Linked DNA regions of Homo sapiens: region 2 is linked to region 1. The links are contacts of gene promoters, found by promoter capture Hi-C in human tissues and cell types (Jung and others, 2019). All regions are on one chromosome and are shown on one strand. Each heading gives the region's core, a stretch centred on a gene start or on the middle of the fragment in contact. The rest is flanking DNA. Distances are from core to core; before and after follow the strand shown. Region 1 holds the start of ADAT2 (adenosine deaminase tRNA specific 2). Region 2 overlaps HIVEP2 (HIVEP zinc finger 2).

Region 1 (3,662 bases), core at 771-3,270:
CTCTTCCTTTCTTTTCAGACTGACTCCTTTTTTGATATAAAACACTAGGATTATTTTCTCTTTCTGGCCGTCTGAACTTTTCTATTTTTTGCATTCCTCTTATTCTGTAACTATAAAGCTCTTGTTAGTTTTTTAAAAAAATTATAAGTTTAAGTATACTCTTTTGCTTCCCCTGTGATTATTTCTAATCTACTACAAAGTTGTTCCATAAGCTGAAGGAGTATTCCTTCTGAGATCGCTAAAGAGATAATTTTCCTTCCTTCAGTAAACGCAAAAATACTTTATTTGTATTTCTTCAATCACACATATATTTTTAGCTTTTATAAATAAAATGGACTCTGTAGTCTTAGGATAATTTAAATATACATTAGATACTAGCGACTGAAGATATCAGAAAATACCTTTTATATATAAAGGATTTCTCGAAGGTGTTCAAAATTTACATATGCTTATTATTGATGTGTGATAGACCTCAGAGACATGCAAAACACCATCCTTGGCTCAGCAACAAGAACTCTGTTTCAAACTTTCAAGCATCACCAAAATCTGAACTATTGATGCTAAAGGTATTAATTGCAAATTGTTTGGGGAGAACAGAATACAATCTAATACGTACTGTTAATTTCAAATTGTTTGGGGAGAACAGAATACAATCTAATACTAAGAGAAAAGCCAACCAAATTCTTTGGGAAACTCTGTTCTTGATTTTAAGTACTTTTGTAAACATAGCATGTAATAAGTGATGAGACTATTTCTCAAAAACTCAAGTTCTAACAAATTTCCTCTTTTATAGTTCCTAGATGTCCTTTTCATATAATTCACAAAACTTTTATTCCCTCCTTCAAATCCCTGAATATTATCACATGAGCATTGTATGAGGGAAAAGCGTCTCAAGATTTTTATCTTATCTGTTTCTAAATCTCCTCTGGGCCTGTGCAACTCAGTTATGTCAGCTAGATTACAATGATCCCAACCTTGAAGATCCTGAGGAAGATTGCACAACATCCCTCAAGCATTTTTCTTACTGCCATAGTTTGTATTCTAAAATGGCAGAAACAGAGCTAAAATATTGATTTGTTTTTCTTTATCTAATCCATATCTTTCAGTCCTTTAGGACAACTGCGCTGTTTTCAAAAATTCAAATCGACTTTAACCACCACCCGAAGTGCAGCCTATAGGTAACTTCCCTAGATTATTATTAAACTCCTGAGAAGGGTGAGAGCCAAAGTATCAAGAGTGCCAAGGAGAAATGCAGAATCTCACAGGAAAGCAGAATTTTTTTTAAAAAGTTCCTGTAAGAGAATGGTGCCTTGAAACAGAAACTTAAACTGTGATGAGTTCTCCAAAGGTCCGTGAGAAAAAAGGATAGGTGAGAAACAGAGTTAAGAGTCGGTGACAGGGCAAAGGGCACAGAGGCATTTCTCAACTGCAGAGATGGGAGAACCCTGGAGGTTGGCCACCTCCCTTTTCATCCCATGGTTGATCGAACTCCCTCTACATATCCCAGACTAGGATCGCCCGGCCTGTCCTTATTTTAGAAGAAGTCACCTCTCCCACCCCCTTCTCCCAATGCCCCCTTTCAAGCACGTTGTCACCCACCTCCAAGGACCGTGCCCAGGAAGATGCATTTCTTTTTGTGGCGTTTCAGAAAATTCCATACAGACCTCAGCATCTTTAGGCCCTAGGGGTGTGGGCTGACTAGGGGTGAGGGACTGCTTCACCAGGAAACTGTTTCTTCGTCACCTGGCCCAGATGACCCAGCAAGAGCGCCGTCGTCCCGTTCTGTGCTCTCCCGAAATCACAAACGTGACTTTCCGCAGAGACTGTCACCGGAGCGGCAAGGGGGCGTGGACTACAGCAAAGCAGCTACGCTTTCTGCCGCTGCCGCCGCGCAGCCGCCGCCGCTCACTGGTCCGACAAGCCCAGGTCCGTTCAGAAATAGCTCCCGAGTGCCTTTTCATTAGACTACCCCCGGAAACGGGGTCCCGGGCCCGCCGCGTTCCGCTGCCCGCGCTCCTCCTCTGCCGCGGGCTCTGTAGCTGAGTGGTGGCTGGGTATGGAGGCGAAGGCGGCACCCAAGCCAGCTGCAAGCGGCGCGTGCTCGGTGTCGGCAGAGGAGACCGAAAAGTGGATGGAGGAGGCGATGCACATGGTGAGGAGCCCGGGAGGTAGATGCTGCGGGGTGGGACCTTTCTCCAGCCCTCAACCCGACCCCGGCATTTGAGCAAACGTTCTTTCTCGTCACCATAATTTTTATGGCAGTCAGATGTTCTGGGTGAACAACTGGCTTTACTGCCTCGAAACTTTCTGTAGCCCATTCTCACAGTGGCTCTGGGCGAAGGAAGGGGAGGAAATACACAAATTATTTGTTTCATTGCGGTGGAGTATGCTGCAGACTTAACATTCTGTCGCCGGCTGGCACGTGCTGCCTCCCTTTCCTTTCTGTGGTCACACACTCTCCAATCTACAAAGTCACATTATTTGAGGTTTTGGCCCTTGGAACATGTCCAGCAGAAGGAAGGAAACTGAGAACGTTTCTGGTAGAGAGCAGTATGGAAACAAGTCCCTGTACAATCGGCGTCTCGCATTCATTCATTATTTCCTCTGCCCTTTTACTTCCTTCCCTCACTCCCTTCAGGACTGCGAAATAAAGGGGGCTTTCAACAGAATGCTGTGTGCTAGCGAGCTTCTTAACTGGGAAAAAAAGTTTGTTTGTAAATATATGTATTTACATTTTAATAACTACATACAGCCACGTGCCACACAATGACCTGTCGGTAAAGGTCGTTATCCTGGAGCATTAAATCTACTCACCTTAGCCCTATTGTCCCATCCAAGTACTAACCAGGCCTGACCCTGCTTAGCTTCCGAGATCGGGGGACATTCAGGGTGGTATGGAGGTAGACAACCCTAGTTTCTATGTAGACTTCTGGGCTAAACACTTTCGCTACCTTTTAGGTTGACCCTGGGCTAGCACATGTAAATACATTTACATACGTTTACAAACAAACTTTTATCCCAGTTAAGAAGCTCGCTAGCACTTTTCAGCTCCATTATAATCTTATAGGACCACATATACAGCGGTGGTGCTATAGGATTATAATGAAGCTGAAAAGTTCCTGTTGCCCAGTGACATGTAGCCCTCCTAACAAGTACTTTTTTTCCTTTAAGACCTTGAAGAAACTTGTATATGCTAAAACCCAAGAAGCAGCTGCCTCCTTAATCCTGTGTAGGAGGACGTAAACTATGGAATCACATCCCTAGGTGTTTATAATACAATTAAGAGACAAAAAATGTCAAAGCCAGAGAGGTCTAGAAATTCTTTGAAAACATCTACATGTTTAAAAAGATACAAAGTAGCATGGCCAGATGCAGTGGCTCATGCCTGTAATCCCAAAACTTTGGAAGGCAGAAGCAAGAGGATCTCTTGATCTCAAAAGTTGAAGAACAGCCTGGGCAACTTAGCCAGACCCCGTCACTACTAAATAAAAATTTAAAAATTAGTAGGGCATGGTGGCATGTGCCTGTAGTCCCAACTACTCAGGAGGCTGAGGAAGGTGGATTGCTTGAGCCTTGGGAGATTGAGGTCGCAGTGAGCCGTGTCTGTGCCACTGTACTCCAACCTGGGAGACAGAGCCAGACCCTGTCTCAAAAAAGAAAAA
Region 2 (3,662 bases), core at 719-3,218, 660 kb after region 1:
AAGAGTAAATGTTTAAGCTGGCTTGGCTAGAAGTAGTTATTTACCTACCATATTAAGGGATAAGATAGAGGAAATGGAAGGGAAGGAAAAAAATAAAAATGGGAAAATGTATCACAAAAGAGAGAGCAAAAAAAGATTTTTAATTATACAAAACATCTACTTGGCTCTGCCCTTTTGCAAAACCAATGCAGCAGAAGAAGTAGTGCCTGTGGAGTTGGTGTTACCATGTCTTCACAGGTCTCCTAGGTGAAATTTTGGTATTATGAACAAGGGGCTTGCCTCCATTGACTTTCAATGAAAGAGCTATCTTTGCTTTTAGGAAGATGGTCTCATAACTCTACTTAAAATATTTACTGAAAAATTTTCGTTATAAGAGCATAAAAATCTTAGAAAATAGCTTATACTGAAAATTGGTTGTAAATTAAGTAATTATTTTTGCTTTGGATACTAAATAATGCACTGCTTATGGAAATTGATTATCTTCTAATTTTTCTGTCATTTACTCATTTTGGAAAAATTAAAATTTTTGTTGCATTTATTTTTATTTAGTATAAAAATTGATAAACATTTCAGTGGAGCATTGATCCTTAACTACTGTTATTTTCTGTTTCTTTGATTATGGATTATAAATATCTTTGCTCATTTGAATTTCAAAATTATTAATTCTTCATTTTTTACTTCTTTACTCATTCAATCAATTTCTGAAATAGGGTTAGATAAATAAACTTTGAATAAGAGGAAGTAGTGTGGATAATGGAAAATAATTGACTTGACAGTTTAAAGACCTAAGCTGTAGACCAGAACTATCATAATGAGCTGTGGGTCCCTAAGCAAGTCTTTTGACTTCTCTGGTTCTCACCTTTTTCATTTGTTAGTTGCCTGATAGATTAAATTCAATGGTTTCTAAATTATTCCATAGCCCTAAACACTGCCTATATGATTTAGAATAAGCTAAACATTTAAATAGTAATAGAAGTTTGTAGTCATATATTTGCTCCTAAAATCAAGTTAGTCAGATATATGACTTACGTGATGTCAAATTGGGTCAAGAAAACAAACCTAGGTTATAGCTCTTATCTTAGAAAACATGACGTGTGTTTTAAGGACACATGTTGGGAGAAGTTTGCATGGCCAATACCAGATGAGCACAGCCAAGATGCAGAATGACTGGAGAACACTATATGATCCTGAACCATCAAAGGAAGATTAAATTATGGTTAGTAGACTGTAATTAACTCAAGGCAAAAGCTAGTGTACTTTTGAAAATAAATTACCACCAGATGTTTAACAAAAAATGATTTTCTCTGTGGTCTTTACCTAACCATAAGATTGTATTAACTAGAACACCTTATTCCCCAAGCATCCTCATGAACCAACATTCCATCACACAAAATAAAGTATATATAATCATAGAGAAACCGGAATGGTAGAGTCTTGTATTTTTATTTCATCTGACAAATGTATTTGTCTCTAAATCTAACATTGATAACTGTGCATTTCTGTATATTAGCATATATAGTTTTATTTAAATATTAAGTTCAGTGTCGTTACATCTAGAAAGCCTTTTCTAACTTTCCAGAAAGGAGTGACCATTCCCTCTTGTAATCTCCTTTGTAATCTGTTTATATTTATGTCATTTGTTGAACTAATTCACAAATATCTCCCCGCTGAAGCTCTGAGCTCTTCGTTTGTTTGTTTGTTTTGTTTGTTTGTTTGTTGTTGTTGTTTTTCGAGATGGAGTCTTGCTCTGTTACCCAGACTGGAGTGCAGTGGTGTGATCTTGGCTCACTGCAACCTCTGCTTCCCGGGTTCAAGAGATTTTCCTGCCTCAGCCTCCTGAGTAGTTGGGATTACAGGTTCCAGCCACCACACCCGGCTAATTTTTGTATTTTTAGTAGAAACAGGGTTTCACCATGTTGGCTAGGCTGGTCTTGAAGTCGTGACCTCAAGTGAGCTGCCCGCCTGGGCCTCCCAAAGTGCTGGGATTACAGGTGTGAGCCACCATACCCAGCCAGCTCTGTGCTCTTAAATGCAATGCTTGTCTTTTCTTTTTCTGTATTGTGTAAATACAGCCCATTTCTGGCATATCGTAGGCATTCAGTAAATGTCTTTTTTTTGAGGGGGGGATTTTTTTTTATTATACTTTAAGTTTTAGGGTACATGTGCACAATGTGCAGGTTTGTTACATATGTATACATGTGCCATATTGGTGTGCTGCACCCATTAACTCGTCATTTAACATTAGGTATAAGTAAATGTCTTAAAGTATCATAGAATAATCAGAAATCCTATTTAAAGAGGCCTAAGTTACAATCTCTAATGCACATGTATCTGCTTTTTTTGTTTGTTTTCACTAGTTTTAATTTACACAATGCTTTGTTTCCTATCTTTTCTGTGCTCCTGCACTACCTGCTGAGAATCAGCAATAGACCATATGTAGCTTTGGTGTCATTTTTATGGGCAGTTTCTGGCTAATTTGGACTCAGTTTGCCCCAGCCTCCTATTATGAAAACTCTGTGGGAATCCTTCCTTCCATGCACCTTCTTGACTTTTCAAAACCTTCTACATTGTTGTCCCAGTAATGAATTGCCCCATGTTCCAAAACTACTATGTTTCTCTTTTCCTAGTCATGTCCCTTTAATATGTTTTCTTTTTTACATTTCAACCCCAACCTCATCCATTACCTTTATATCAAAAATATTTCTGAAGATCTAAGCTTATAGTCATCATCCTGTCAATGTATGTGTGTGTGTGTATGTGTGTTGTCTATCCTGTACCTGCCTTCTCTAGTCCTTCGCAGCCTCTTCTTCCTTTGCCACTTTACGCACTCCAGAGTGGAACAATGGGCCCATTTAGAGTCTTTTTTTTTTTTTTTTTGTAGAGAGGAAAAGATGCCTCTACAAAAAGCTTGTGAAATTGATGGATTATATCTTGAACATTGATATCTCTTTCAGTGCTCTTCTCCCATCTTTAGTCACTACTTTTGAATCTTTTCTATTCCCTACTATAAGAGTAAAGTGTCTCTTCTCTAGTGAAGAGTAGTGTTCATTCTTTTAAACATGTAATACTTAAACACTCTTTTTACTGAGAAATAAAACTATCATATCTTGTTTCCAGTTTCTATTTGCCATTTTTCCATTGAGTTTATAAGAATTATTTTCATTGATGTTGTTTTTATTTATTTATTTATTTATTTTTGAGACGGGGTCTCACTCTATCCCCCAGACTGGTGCAATTATAGCTCACTGCAGCGCCAAACTCCTGGGTTCAAATGATCTTCTTACCTCAGCCTCCCAAGCAGCTGGGACTACAGATGTGCACCACCACACCTGCTTAAATTTTTTTTTATAGAGATAGGGTCTTGCTTTGTTGCCCAGACTGGTCTCAACCTCCTGGTCTTAAGCAATCCTCCCAAAGTGCTGGGATTACAGGTGTGAGCCACTACATCCAGCCAATAATTATTGTTTTTAATTATGACAATGCTCATCTAAAGTGTAACTGGTTTACCTTATCAGCTCTTCTCCTAAAATTGTGATATAGTGTGTATTTATTTAACCTCAGAAAAAACAAGGGTGATGGGAGGTACTTGAGAGTTCTGCCAATGAAACCTTCACCTCTTGCTAGATTCATGTAAGAGTCATATTAAAGCATTAACTGTAACT

Evidence for each region. Contacts are between HindIII fragments. The study calls those that stand out against the background at their distance.
Region 2: a fragment that was not itself captured here is called in contact with the fragment with the promoter of ADAT2 in region 1 in 1 of the 25 tissues and cell types used here (IMR-90 fibroblasts).

The regions. Positions count from the first base shown.
Region 1 is chr6:143,449,053-143,452,714 of GRCh38, reverse strand. ADAT2 (adenosine deaminase tRNA specific 2) reads left to right here and starts at 2,020. Exons shown (of 6, transcript NM_182503.3): 1 at 2,020-2,152. The coding sequence starts at 2,057. It overlaps PEX3 (peroxisomal biogenesis factor 3), which reads right to left and starts at 1,910. Exons shown (of 12, transcript NM_003630.3): 1 at 1,600-1,910. The coding sequence starts at 1,672. It also overlaps the pseudogene RNA5SP221. RefSeq lists enhancers at 2,070-2,229, 2,032-3,014 and silencers at 2,770-2,849, 2,910-2,989. The HindIII fragment of the contact is 11,275 bases long and covers 1-3,662 here.
Region 2 is chr6:142,786,782-142,790,443 of GRCh38, reverse strand. All of the region lies in intron 2 of HIVEP2 (HIVEP zinc finger 2), which reads left to right. Among named protein-coding and RNA genes, the nearest start is that of HIVEP2, 160 kb to the left of the region's middle. The HindIII fragment of the contact is 5,668 bases long and covers 1-3,662 here.